5 separate regions of the Homo sapiens genome follow, and regions 1, 3, 4 and 5 are each linked to region 2. Evidence: promoter capture Hi-C in 16 types of primary human blood cells and fetal thymus (Javierre and others, 2016). All regions are on one chromosome and are shown on one strand. The core of a region is centred on a gene start or on the middle of the fragment in contact, and the rest is flanking DNA. Distances in the headings are between cores, read along the strand shown. Region 1 overlaps TAF4 (TATA-box binding protein associated factor 4). Region 2 holds the start of HRH3 (histamine receptor H3). Region 3 overlaps TAF4 (TATA-box binding protein associated factor 4). Region 4 overlaps TAF4 (TATA-box binding protein associated factor 4). Region 5 overlaps TAF4 (TATA-box binding protein associated factor 4).

What was found. The method cuts DNA at HindIII sites, captures the fragments that hold promoters and counts their contacts. A CHiCAGO score of 5 or more calls a contact.
Region 1: a fragment that was not itself captured here is called in contact with the fragment with the promoter of HRH3 in region 2 in 10 of 17 cell types (neutrophils, M2 macrophages, total CD4 T cells and 7 more); the score reaches 8.8 in neutrophils.
Region 3: a fragment that was not itself captured here is called in contact with the fragment with the promoter of HRH3 in region 2 in 1 of 17 cell types (neutrophils); the score reaches 5.5 in neutrophils.
Region 4: a fragment that was not itself captured here is called in contact with the fragment with the promoter of HRH3 in region 2 in 12 of 17 cell types (activated CD4 T cells, M0 macrophages, neutrophils and 9 more); the score reaches 10.4 in activated CD4 T cells.
Region 5: a fragment that was not itself captured here is called in contact with the fragment with the promoter of HRH3 in region 2 in 6 of 17 cell types (M2 macrophages, monocytes, M0 macrophages and 3 more); the score reaches 5.7 in M2 macrophages.

What each region holds. Positions count from the first base shown.
Region 1 is chr20:62,036,871-62,039,570 of GRCh38, forward strand. All of the region lies in intron 1 of TAF4 (TATA-box binding protein associated factor 4), which reads right to left. It also overlaps the pseudogene RPL17P48. Among named protein-coding and RNA genes, the nearest start is that of MIR3195, 27 kb to the right of the region's middle. The HindIII fragment of the contact is 5,228 bases long and covers 1-2,700 here.
Region 2 is chr20:62,218,927-62,221,626 of GRCh38, forward strand. It overlaps HRH3 (histamine receptor H3), which reads right to left and starts at 1,352. Exons shown (of 3, transcript NM_007232.3): 1 at 795-1,352. The coding sequence starts at 1,044. RefSeq lists a silencer at 1,457-1,566. The HindIII fragment of the contact is 16,770 bases long and covers 1-2,700 here.
Region 3 is chr20:62,058,783-62,061,482 of GRCh38, forward strand. All of the region lies in intron 1 of TAF4 (TATA-box binding protein associated factor 4), which reads right to left. Among named protein-coding and RNA genes, the nearest start is that of MIR3195, 4.7 kb to the right of the region's middle. The HindIII fragment of the contact is 354 bases long and covers 1,130-1,483 here.
Region 4 is chr20:62,008,291-62,010,990 of GRCh38, forward strand. It overlaps TAF4 (TATA-box binding protein associated factor 4), which reads right to left. Exons shown (of 15, transcript NM_003185.4): 4 at 1,756-1,875; 5 at 762-884. Among named protein-coding and RNA genes, the nearest start is that of MIR3195, 55 kb to the right of the region's middle. The HindIII fragment of the contact is 5,713 bases long and covers 1-2,700 here.
Region 5 is chr20:61,990,177-61,992,876 of GRCh38, forward strand. The region is part of intron 14 of TAF4 (TATA-box binding protein associated factor 4); the gene reads right to left. Among named protein-coding and RNA genes, the nearest start is that of MIR1257, 38 kb to the left of the region's middle. RefSeq lists an enhancer at 1-77. The HindIII fragment of the contact is 9,088 bases long and covers 1-2,700 here.

The DNA of each region.
Region 1 (2,700 bases), core at 170-2,669, 180 kb before region 2:
CCAGCCCTCATTAACCGGATTAGCGCCCTTATGAAAGAGCCTGTCCCACAGCTGCCTTGCCCCTTCCTTCCACACTCTGAGGACACACAAGAAGCTGCATGGGAGCAGGCAGCAGGCCCTCACCAGCATGGCAATCTTGCACTTCCCAGGACTGTGAGAAATGAATTTCCGGTGTCTAGAAGCCTCCCAGTCTATGGTATTTTGTTACAGCAGCCAGAATGGCCTATGACAGAAGGGGATTCCTCAACCTAACACAGGGCCTCTATGAAAAACCTGCAGCTGACATCATGTGCGTCATGAGAGAAGACAGACTGCCTCCCCCAAGATCAGAAACAAGGCAAAATGTCCCTTCTCAACGCTTCTGTTTGTCATATTACACTGGAGGTTGTGGCCAGTGCAATGAGACAAGAACAAGAAATAAAAGGTGCACAGACCAGAAAAAAAGACATGAACCACTCTTTACTGCAGATCACGCCTATCTTTGAAGAAAATCCTAAGAAATCCACAGGATATAAAGTCAATTTTTTTTATTTTAATTGCATTTATTGTATGCTGAGTTTATTCCCATGCCACAAGTTTTTGTTTCTTCAGTTTCTTCTGGTACAGTTTTCCTCTGTGCAACTTCCTCACCTGGCTTGGGAACAAGTGTCTTTACCGTGAGGATCGTCTCAATGTGACGGGGCGCCCTGTATGGATGAACCCGACCACCAGCCCTGGAAGTCCCACAGCGCATCCTGGGTGCTCAAACACCAGAGAGCCTACATCTACACCCTCACATTCAGTGTGACTCTCCACATTTTTAATTGTGTGCAGCAAAAATTCAGCGCTCTTTTCGGGTCACCAACCCTGTGTCCAGCCCCACTGTTTGGCCTAGGTACACCTGCCAGCTCCACCCCTGCCAAGTCGGAATGGCATACACTGTTTCTATAAAGGGACGTCTTTCAGACACTTGGTGACTTCTCACGTATGCATACCCTTGATGGCCTGGGCAGTTTCACGAGCGTTCTTAAAGTGATCAAGAAGACCTGAACCTCTGGATTTGCACGATTTTGTGGGGATTTCTGGGTCAAGTGACTAATGAACCATTTTCACAGATCATCTCAGGCCGCTTGGGGAAGAGCTATAAAGTCACTATTTTTAAAAGCAATTTTTTTGTTGTTTTTTTTTTGGTTTTTTGAGACGGAGTCTCACTCTGTCGCCCAGGCTGGAGTGCAGTGGCGCGATCTCGGCTCACAGCAAGCTCCGCCTCCCAGGTTCATGCCATTCTCCTGCCTCAGCCTCCAGGTGGCTGGGACTACAGGAGCCCACCACTACGCCCGGCTAATTTTTTGTATTTTTACTAGAGACAGGGTTTCACAGTGTTAGCCAGGATGGTGTCGATCTCCTGACCTCGTGATCCACCAGCTTCGGCCTCCCAAAGTGCTGGGACTACAGGCGTGTGCCACCATGCCCAGCTAATTTTTTGTATTTTTAGTAGAGACAGGGTTTCACAGTGTTAGCCAGGATGGTCTCAATCTCCTGACCTCATGATCCGCCCGCCTCAGCCTCCCAAAGTGCTAGGATTACAGGTATGAGCCACTGAGCCACCGAGCCACTGACCCACCGCGCCCGGCCAAAAGCAATTGTTTTTCTAAATACTGGCAACAATTGGAAACAAAATTTTTTAAAGGACCACGTACATGGCATAAAATATGAATACTTAAGAATAAATTTAACAAAGTATGTTCAGGATACAAACACTGAGAACTTGAAACAACCCTGAGAAAAATCCTGAAAGGCCTAAATCAATGAAGAGGTACAACACGTTCGTGAATCAGAACACTCGATATTGCTAAGATATCAATGATCATAAAACCGATCTATAGACTCAATACAATCCCAAGCAAGATATCAAGGTATTGGCCAGGCCCAGTGGCTCACACCTGTAATCCCAGCACTTTGAGAGGCTGAGGCAGGCGGATCACCTGAGGTCAGGAATTCAAGACCAGCCTGGCCAACACGGCAAAACCCTATCTCTACTAAAAATACAAAAATTAGCCGGGTGTGGTGGCACGTGCCTGTAATCCCAGCTACTCGGGAGGCTGAGGCAGGAGACTCACTTGAACCCGGGAGTCGGAGCTTGCAGTGAGCCAAGATCGTGCCACTGCACTCCAGGAAAAGATGTGAAAGAGTGAAAAATTCCGTCTCAAAACAAACAAAAAGCTATCAAGGTATCAAGAGGCTTTTTTTGTAGAAGTTGACGAACTGATTCTGAAACACATGAATGCAAACGACCAGAACAGCCCTCAACGTTTTCGAAAAAGCAGCACTGGAGGACTCCTGCCACCCATCAACACTCCCTCTAAATGGGCTGGAAAGTGCTGAGCTGCAGAAGGGAAGACAAGGACATGAGTGGACAGAACACATCCCAGAAGTGACGTCCTCACACGTGGCCGACTGAGTTTCAATAAAGGCAGCAGCATCGTTCAATAGAGAAAGGAAGGTCTCCTCAACACATAAGGCTGGCATGATTGGTAACCACAGAAAAAATGAGTCTCAACCCCCTACCTTACAACTCTCCCAAAATTAACTTGAATTGGGTTGAGTAAGAGCTAAAGCCATAAGCATTCTAGAAAACTCCTGTACCTTGGGTTAGGCAAAAATTTATTTAAGAAGGCACAAGATGAATTCTTAAAATGACTCACTGGATTTATTTAAGAA
Region 2 (2,700 bases), core at 102-2,601:
AGACCCCCGAGAGCCTGGAGTCGGGATTCCCTGGACTTCTGTCCAGCCCTCCCAGCCCTCAAAGGAGGAAAGAAGACAATTTCCTTCTCCCCTCCCCCGCTGGACTCCAGCCCCTACCCTGGCGCTGGACAACCCTCGGTCTCAGCTTAGACAAGGAGAAAGCCTTTCTCCTGGCTGAAAGGGCACTTGGTTGCAGCCGCCAGCCGCCAGCCGCTACTACTACTGCCAAGCGGGCTTGGAGCGTCTGGGAGACGCACCTCACAGCCCCAACAGGTGTCTGGCGCTCCAGCCCCCTCCGCGTGCCCCGCCCCCCAGCCGGCAGCAGAGCCTGGACACGTGAGAGCACGCTCCTCCGAGCGTCTCCCCCAACCCCCACCTTCCCCACCGTCCCTTCCCCCAACACAGCTCTAAAAATCCCCCTTCCATGTCCCCTCCCCCAGACCTTCTCTAAACCGCCCCACTGCGCCCTCCGCGCGTCCTAAGTCCGCAGCAGCCTTTGTTTGGCTACAGCGCAGGAGCCAGAGCTGCACCCGCTGCCTTTGCGCCTTGCGCCTCGCCCAGTGCCCGTGTCCCTTCCCGGGGACATCTCTCCCCAGCCCCTGTCCCGAGGCCTGAGTGGCAAGGAACTTCGCCTGTGCCCCCCACCCCATGGGCTCCGGACGCCCCCTTCCCAGGCCGGGTCCCCTGGTGGGGCGTGTGCCTGCGGGAGCCACCCAGGTCCGTGTTCCAGTCCCCGCTGGCCCGGCCACGCTGGGCGCCCCTGGGTCCCCAGCGGCCAGGGGCTGGGGATTTACCGACGAGGAAGTCGGAGATGGCGAGGTTGAGCAGGAAGAAGTTGTTCTGGGTGCGGAGGCTCGAGTCGGCCACGAAGGCGAGCATGACCAGCGCGTTGCCCAGCACCGTGGCCACGATGAGCAGCGCCATGAGCGCGGCCAGCACCGCGGTCCAGGCTGCCGAGAAGCCGCGCGCCCCGCCCGCCGCCGCCGCCTCGCCCGCCAGCGCCCCCGAAGCGTTCAGCGGCCCGTCGGGCGGCGCGCGCTCCATGGCCCCGCAGGCTCACGCGGCTCCGGGACGCGGGGCAGGGCGCCGGCCGAGAGCTGGGCGGCCGGGAGGGGCCCCGGCCCGGGAGCCTCGTCTTTGCGGGCCCTTGGCCGGGTCGGGTTCCCCTGGGGGCGCCCAGCGCATGGTCCGCGGGGCCGGGGCCGGGGCCAGAGCAGGCGGTGCCGAGGGGGCCGGGGCCGGATCCGAGCCCAGTGGGGCCGGCAGCGCGGCTGCTGCAGCGGGAGAGGAGCCGGAGCCTGAGCCGCTGCCGGTGCGACCGTGCAGCCGGAGCGCAACGCGCAGCCGAGTGCGCCCCGCGCCCAGCCCACCGCCCCGCGCGCCCCGCGCAGCGCCCCCGCCATTGGCTGCCGCCCTCGCCCCGCCCCCTCCCCGCCCCCGCCCCGCCCGGCGCCGGCAGCACCACGGACAGCGCCGCGTGCCCGCCAGGCTGCCTGGAGCCCAGCCCCTGCGCTCACAGCAGCTGGCTGGGAGCCCGGCCGGGGCTTGACCGGGTCTGGGGGCTCGCCTGCGGTCAGTCAGCCCGCGCACTCGGAGCCGGGGTCTGGGTTGCTCGGCCTTTCCCGTGCCCTCGGCCCTGGTGACCCCTGCCCGGTCATCATGGAGAGCCCTGGCGCCTGTGGGGACCCGGGGTGGGGGTGGGGGAAACGCCTGCACCCGCGCTCCGGGGACTTGCCCTGCGGGGCATTTCCTCGGTGCATGTTTTGGGAATGTGGGTCTCCGGGGCAAGGAACGTCTGGAGGAGAAGGGATGGGGAGGAGGGGGTCTTGGAAAGCCGGTGCCCAGACCAGGGGTCCGCTCCACCTCCCGTTTGCACGGACCCTGGGTGCCAGCCTCCGTGTGGACAGGGCCCAGTGCAGGGTCCAGGGTGACCCGCAAGGCGCAGGCAGATGTGGAGTTACATAAGGGAAGATGAGGCGCCGGGCGGACCCAGCCGGAGGGGAGCGCGTCTAGCCTGGGCTCCGGCGGCCTCAGGCTGAGGAGGGAGCAGCAAGCCGCTCGGAGCCCAGCCACGGACCCCTGTGGACAGAGGGGCAGTCGCCACTGCAGCGGACAGACGAGGTCACTGCGCTCAGGGCGCAGGTGGTGGCTGTGTTAGCGCCTGTGGGAGGGGACGGGGGAGGAGAGGAGAGGTGGCAGGAGGGAGCGCCCCCACCACCAGACACATGCGCTCAGATACACCGGGTCAAGGACAGATTCCTCCTGAAACACTGAGGGCAGACAGACAGACATGCCCACACTCAGATACACAGACACCCACAGGCCAGGGAAGCAGCCACCAGCGCCAGGCTGAGGACCCACCAAGAGCGAGACACACATCAGACAGCAGGCAGGGAGGGAGCCGCGCCCCAGGAGAAGGAAGCAGCAACTCCGCTCACAGGAGAAGGAAGCAGCCGAAGGCATCCCTGGTGCCTCAAAGAGGCCAGAGTGCGCGTGTCTGGGGGAGGGGCTGCAGAGGGGACCCCGGGCGCTGACATGCACCGTCACTCCCCTACTTATAGCAGCTTCCCCATACTGTGGGGACCTGCCCCTTCCCCTCGCCCCCCGTGGCGCTTCAGAAACTTTGGGGAAGGAGGAGCTGGGATTCCTCTGCTGCCACCTCAGGGCTGACTGCAGAAAGGAACCCCCAGACCCGTGGCC
Region 3 (2,700 bases), core at 57-2,556, 160 kb before region 2:
GCAAGACCTCAGGAAGGACGGACACAGGTCTACACACCAGGCCACAGACAATGGGGCTCGGGGGCCAACCTCAGCAAGACCTCAGGAAGGACGGACACAGGTCTACACACCAGGCCACAGACAATGGGGCTCGGGGGCCAACCTCAGCAAGACCTCAGGAAGGACGGACACAGGTCTACACACCAGGCCACAGACAATGGGGCTCGGGGGGCCAACCTCTCCAGTCCCCAAACACAGTCCCCAACAGACAACTTCTCCTGTCCCCACATGCGGCTCCCAACAAACAATTTCTCCTGCCCTCACACGCGGTTCCCAACGACAACTTCTGCTCCACAACATGACACCCACGGTGGGAGAAGCTGGGGGCACTTCACTACATCATCCTGCACACTGCAGCATGGCCTGCTCCAGGCAGAAGGCAGGCCTGGAGAAGAGCCTGGGACCACCGCGGACTGACCAACAGCGGACACCAGGTACTTTCTCAAATGGGAGAGGGGCCTCATGGTGGACAACATGTATCTCTTTGTTTTTCGAAAGCTGTACATCTTTGGTGCAAATGTTCATTTGAGATATGTAAAAATCAAAAGTTTTCACTCAAAACTTTCATGGTCCAACCATGGAAATATTAAGCACCCCATTTTCGAACATAACTTGACAGCACTTATTCTACTTCATTATTCCACGCAAGAATTGGAAAGAACAGCTGTGTACGTGTTTGCAGCTGACACCACAATGCCATAGCAACCGCAGGCCCACCTGGAAGCAGAAGCGTCCAGGAAGCCCAGGTGCACAGCACTCGGCACAGAAGGGCCTGCAGCCAAAAGCCCCCTTTATTTAACTGCTTTATTGCTATCAAAGGCCTGATTAAGTAAACGCCCCCATCACGCTGCCTGAGCCGGGCACCACAGGTGAACACCCTAAACAGCAACTGTTTCCTGGATGATCGAGGGCTTGGAGGTTCCTACTGAGCACCATGAAGAAGAAAAGCAAAGCACTTCGGGAACCCTGCAAATTACCCCAAATCTCAGGCAAGCTTCTCCAGAGCCCTGTTACACCTCTGCTTCAAGATCCTCAAACACAGCTGCTAATTATGCTTTGATCAACTCACTTACAACCAACAATTTATAAAAGCTTTCTTCAAATTTATCCCTTAAGTGGAAGAAAACTCACATTATACAGTAGAAAAGGCTTTGGAGGTAGAACAGGAACTGTCTCCATTCCACTCTGATTTCGGGATGCGGACACGCCCACCAGTCTGTTCTGCTGAGCCCGGTCTGTGCTGCTCTGACCAGACGCCGCCTCCCGGCCTCCCTGTGCTGATGTCTAAGGGGCAACTTCCACAGCACACCGGGGAGCCCGGGGGCAGTCCTGGAAGCCAGGGTGGCTCTGCTCTCTGCCCTGGGAGAAGGCCAACTTCCCAGGCGCCCGGGGCCTGCCTCAGGTCCATTTGCCACAGAAGCAAGCGGGACACCCTCTCCTACAAAGCTTCTCACAGGCCCTAAGAACCAGGGCAACCGTAACGAACTTCAAACGTCATCCTCTGTTCAAACTCATAGACCTCTGCTGTGAATGCAGTGCTCGGGCACAGTAAGCAGTGAGGAGAGAGGCTCCTAAGAGCGTCACAGGACCCCGACTCCTGGCTGCCACTAAGCCATGAGGGTCACCAGCTCTGAGACACCAAAGGCAGGTGAGGTCCATCCCAACCTGTCACCAAGATGACTCTGTTCATCCCGAAGGCGATGGTGACGACCCCAGCCGCGGGGCAGGGGGCAGGGAGGAAGGGAAGACCCAGAGCGGCGCCCTTGCCCTATGCTAGGCAGAGCTGTCCAGGGCTGTCTTTACACAGCTCCCCAAAAGTTCTTTTTCTTTGTTCTTTTCAAATGTCACTCCTACCTGAGTATGTCAAAAGAAACACCAGATTAAGGCCTCTAGCCTAAAGTGAGCCCTCCACCCAGGTCCAGGCCTCCAAAGGCCACTGCAACCCTCCCCTATGTTGGCAACCACCGCCCCAGGGTGACCCACCTCAGACCTCGGTAACTTCCCCATTGACAGAACCAGTCAGCTGCCACACCAAACACCTCAGTCACTGAGAAAACATCCAGTCTGGATTAATGTGTGAAAATCAGTGAAAAATGAGGGGAACTGGGAGAGTTTGGAATAGTGAGCGCCACCTGACAGCTATGTTATCTGGCCCAACCTGACAGAATTCACATTCTTCACCAAAAGGGCAACCCCACTTTACAGCTGGGTAAGCCAAGGCTCCGAGGAACAACATATTCCTCCCAGGTCAAACGGCAACAGGGCCCTCAAGTCACAAAATCTAAACTTTTAGGAATGTCCCTTGTGCCAGAGCACTGGCTGCCACCACTGGCCACCAGAACTCACAGCTCCTGCAACCTCAGGGGTGGCCGTCTGCATGCCGCCACCCAGCATGGGCCTGGACTCGCCAAATCCAACCCGTCCCAACAGCGCGATTAAGGGCTAGTGGACATTTTCCCCCTTTCCCCACAGATGGGAACCAATGCTCCAGACAGCACCCACAGACACACATTCACCTGGGAGTACTCATCCTAAAACATGCAGCAAGCACACGCCCCCTAGGCCAAGGGATCAAGGCCCATGGTGAGAAAGTGCTTTTCTGTCCTGGAATGGGAATCTACACTTGGGCCAAATCTTAGAGCAAAAGGAGAGTAAATTCTG
Region 4 (2,700 bases), core at 166-2,665, 210 kb before region 2:
GGTCAGGCGGACAAGGAGAAGGCACGGTAAGACCAGCCACTCCAGATCCCCAGGCCATCCCACTGACGCCAGCACAGCCCTGAGCCACGAGACAGCCATGAGGCTGAGGAAGGTGGACAGCCGAGAGCTCGGCCATGAGTGGAGATCTGGAGCTTGGGACTGTGGGTTAAGGAGAGGGGAGGCTGCCAGGAATCCTCCCTCCCACCTTCCGGCCAGGGGACAGAGTGCTGTTCTCTGCGACAGAGGTTTCGGGAGGGGTGGGGGTGGGGGGGACGGCTCTGCCACTGGAGCGCGAATGTGCCTCAGCTGGTCTGCTCCATGGGGAGGGGGCTTCTGGTGGCTCAGGGTGCAGAATGCCTGTTCCAGCCGGGACTGCGGACACCTGGGAATTTTATAAGAGGTCACACAGGAGTGGGGAGAGGGCCAGAAGGGAGTTGCTGGAGACCCTGACCAGAGTGCAGCATGGTTGGGGCAGCCAGAGGAGAAGAGAGCCACAGACAAGGGACGCAGGCACCAGAAAACGGCAAAGCCCGGGAGACCTCCAGGCGCCGGCCCCAGAACACCCAGCCCCAGGAAGGAGTCTCCTTAGCTAGGCCACACACGCCTTCGACACGTGTGCACCCCTCCCCTTCGCCTGCAGCCTTCCAGAGGAGCTCTCCCTGCTGGCACAGGCCTCCCGGGCACAGGTCACAGCAGCAACAGGTGTCTGTCCTATGCAACAGGCTTTAGGGGAAAGGGAATGTAAAGTCAAGGTTTCTCACCAGTAAATTCTGCACGAGCTCTTTCACATTAGCTGCTGTCTCTGTAGACTGCTTGCCAGATGAAGCCAGTTTTATTAACGTAGATAGGAAATTTTTACATTTCTTCACGTTTTCCATAGTTTCCTGGATTAAAGTAAAAAGATATAAGTGAAAAATCTTAAAAGGCAGATTTTTGTCACAGCCTTTGGTTACTAAAATATGCATATGTACAAAAGATACATATATTTCTTCTCTAAACTTCTTTCAAGAAAACGCACCACCTCTTGGAACCCTGGGCCATGGGGCAGGCCAGCCACATCAGTCACATGGCCACCGAAGTCAGCATCTCCCTCAGCCCCGCAAGGCCACATCTAGGAATGCAGCTATGCAAATAATTAAAAAAGTGAAAAGAGACTCTGCGAAGATGCCTGCTACAATGTTGCTGACCATAAGGACAACCTATGCCAATCCAAACGGACACAGAAGGAACCAAATAGGATGCGGTCACTAAAGCAACGAAAAGTACGCAGCAAAGAAACACCAAAAAGGCGTCAAGTGGGGCCCACTGTTTAAAGATGTCTATCGATACAGGCCGACACTGTGTGTACAAACGGGTGGCGCTGCTGTTTTACACACTGAACACAACAGTTCACCAGTGACTCTTCTGTTTTAATAAAGATGTGTATCGATACAGGCCGACACTACGAGTGTGTACAAACGGGTGGCGCTGCTGTTTTACATACAACGCGACAGTGCACCAGTGACTTTTTCAAAGGCAGGTGTTTGGGCTTTTGCTGTTTGCAGACTTCTGCGGTCTAAGGCCCTCGGAGCCCACCTCACACAGCACAGCAGCAGAGCCCCACGTGCTCACGTGGGCCCCAGACTGTTCACTGCTTTGTGAAGCAAGCAGTGAGCGGTCTGGGACAGAAGCCGGCCTGAGGTCTCAAGGCTGCATTTTCTGACCTGCGCCACGGGCCTGACCGTCTTTGAAGGCACGGAAAGGAGTGGCTCTTACCGTGGCAGCTGAGGAAGTGGTGGTCGCCCCTGGTACCGTGCGCTGAGGAGTCCCCGTCTGAACAGCCGTCGCCGTCCCAAGTGAAGCCGTCTGGGCAGCGCCACCCAGAACGAGCTGAGGCTACAAGAATCCAAAAACACAAGGTAAGGGCATCTCACGCCACCAGCTGACGAGGGGGAGACCAGCCTCACGCCCAGCAAAAGAAAACAAGCCTCCCTGCGGTGGCCAGGACGCCCAGGAAGCCAAGGACCCCGGCCACCTGCCAGCCCGCTGGACACGGGAGTGCTGCTGGGAGGCCTGCCCTGTGCCCTGACGATCGCAGTCCTGAGCGGGTGAGGAAGGCATGATTTGCACCTGCATCAAAAACGGACGTTCACAAAGCCAGGCACTGCAGAGACCCCAGTCCTCAGAAGTCCATGGAAAAAGTCACATAGAGACCAGAGTAAATAATCCTAACAGGCAACCCAGATCCCCATCTCTCAGAAATCAAAACAACAAACAGAAGAACGGCTCCTGAAAGCTCCATCCTCCCAGGTGCAGAGGCTGGCTACAGGGCGGTCAGGGCTCCACAGCCGCAGCCTCCCATAGGGGAGGGTCCCCAGCTCCCTGCAATCACCCAAACCCACCTTTCTTTACTCCCCAAAAGTGAGTGTCAACAAGAAGCCTCCCACAGAGGGGAGTTTTCAGAGCAGATTCGAGCAATGGAGGATGGGTCATCAGTGTCAAACTGTCAGAAAGGAGGGGCTGCTTTGCTAAGCAAATGAACAGCCAGACGCCAAAAGGTAGCTCAGACAACTCAGTGGCCTGTACTCGATTCCTAACATTTCCATTCTACATGAATAATCAGAATGCAAATGTTTACTGATATTTTAAACTAGTACTTTTCCAATGTATAAATCTAGCAGTCAACATTTTCTGTCTCCAATTTTTTAAACACTCCTTTGC
Region 5 (2,700 bases), core at 185-2,684, 230 kb before region 2:
ACAAGGATTAAAGTGTACATATTGAAAAAGTACAGGAGTGCACGCAAACACATGTGGTGTAGCGGGGACGAAGCAGACAGCGTGATGCTCATACACCGGAGTCTGCACGGAGCTCCTTACTCTGTTCTTGCAACTTTTCTGTAGATTTGAAAACTACTTCAAACTAAAATAAGTAATTTTCAAAGTTAATGTATTCTGGAAGACGATGACAGGGGTAGCATAGTTTCTGGATCTTCCCAAAGTTCCACATAAAAGAGCAACGACACAGCAAAACCAAAAGCCAGCGGACAATCTTTAGAACAAAACTGATGAAGATGAACCACAAGCAGCCATCACCTGAAGGACGCTGCAGAACTGGACCCCGACGGGCCTGGACCCAGGAGCCAGCAGACTTCCTGGGAAGAGCAGCAGGTCCCTCCAAGAGCCGCAGTCAAACCTGGGGCAGGGGAGGACCAGGGAGGGCAGCCTGGCCACCGCAAATGCCCACACTGACCTGCCAGGGCTCCTGCAGCACAGGGCCTCACGCAGGAGAGAACCTGCTGGGAGTGAATCAGTACTGAGCAGGACAGGGACAAGGAAGGCAAAGCAAAGTCCAGATGCTTGGGAGGTGCACAGAGCCCCGGAGCCACAGACGCTGAGGACTCCCGTTCTTAACATCACGGGAAAGTAACCACAGAGGAGCACCACAAAGTCAGCAAACGCTGCAAACCACGTGTCCTGTTACAAGTTCGAGAAACCTAAACTCACGTCGAAATTAGCAACAGAAAGACATTCAGGTCAAATCCCAGACAGGCTCCCATGAGAGAAAAAGAGGATAAAAAGCAGAAGAGCATCCCTACAGACCACAGAAGACCTCAGAAACACATACTCAAAACAGCAGGTAAACAGCAAATCACGCCTTAAGAGAAATGGAAGCCAAAAAGGACAAAAAAGATAATTTTTTAAAAAAGAGAAAAATTAGGCCAGGCACAATGGCTCACACCTGTAATCCCAGCACTTTGGGAGGCTGAGACGGGCAAATCACTTGAGGTCTGGAGTTTGAGACCAGCCTGGCCAACATGGTGAAACCCTGTCTCTACTAAAAATACAAAAAAATTAGCTGGGTGTGGTGGTGCACACCTGTAATCCCAGCTACTCAGGAGGCTGAGGCAGAAGAAAACCAGGAGGCAGAGGTTGCCATGAGCTGAGATCACACCGAGATAGAGCCACTGCACTCCAGCCTGGGTGACAGAGGGAGACTCTGTCTCAAAAAATAAAAATTAAAAAAAAAGAGAGAGAGAAATTAGGCTGGACACAAGTGGCTCAGCAGCATTTAGGGAGGCCAATGTGGGAGGACTGCTTGAACCCTGGAGGTCGAGGCTGCAGTGAGCTGTGATCACACCACTGCACTCCAGCATGGGTGAGAGAGACCCTGTCTCTAAAAAACCAAAAAACAAAAAAAAAGAGAGAGAGAGATTTTAAAAATTAAGAGACTGTAAAAAGTGCTCCAGCAGGCAAAGAAGATACAACACGTGGAAAATGGGACTCTCTGAAGAAAGAAACAAAAGAACAGAACAAACACAAAGGATCATTATTGCAGATGTTCCTAAGGAGACTTGAACCGCACTGAAAGAACACAGCCAGTACTGAGAACACCACCCCAGCACAACCAAGCCCAGCACGCACTCCAGTGGGATGAGCCGGCTTCCGAGAAAAAGGACACCCAGGGAAGAAAAACACGTGGCCTACAGGAGGTAAAATGAGGCTCTCATTAGATTTGGACAGTAACACTTTAGGGAGGAAATAATCCAGAGTAACATCCTTAAGACACTTCAGTAAATACAACGTGAGCCAAAAAACAGACCTTCAGGTACAAAGGGCACAAACTCATCAGCAGGTGGGAACTTGGGAGTGGCTGCTCCCATGAAGCGTTCCAAAAGAATCTAGCAGAGAATGAGATTTGGAAAAATCAAAATGACTACAGAGACACAACATAAAGACGAGTCACGGCATTAAACATGTCATTATTTATGGCACTAAAACTCAAAGAGGGCGAAAGGGAGAGCTTATGGTGTGTAACAGCTAAATGTTTCGACAACATAAATACAGCACAAAATACAAAACGGGGCCAAGGGAGAAAGCACATGAACAACTTTCGGCTGTTTTCACCACCCTCGGCAGGAGTGCCCATATTCTTATTCTCAGGCTATGTCCAAAGGTAGGAGATATTTTAATTCTATTATCTCCTATGTCCATAACCAGGATCCTTTTATTTTAATCTCTCCTTCTCCTGCCCTCCCCTCCAATTCCCCACCCCCCAAGCCCTTGGGGCAGCCAAGAGCCAGAATTCTTACTGTGAAGATAAAGACGTCATTTTGAACATGGTAACTCCTACACCTCTGAATTTGAACTACCTGAATTGGAAATACCCATATAAGCCCATGAGACCATGTTTTACACACATTTCCCAGTGCTGTCCACTGAAAAGGCCAACCCACCCCAGCAGCAATGACATCCCTAGTCCCAGCGAGTGGTCTTCAAACGCCATTTCCCACTAGAAGAAACCAGTTCTTGGAGAAATGACTTTTTCGGTCTGAAACAGGAAAGGTGTAAGGTGAGCCTGACACATGTTAACGTCCAGACGGCAAGGACATCAGCCCCACGTCCCAGCGTGACTCAGGAACCAACCTGGAGATGCTTCCATTGGCCAAAGATGGCACA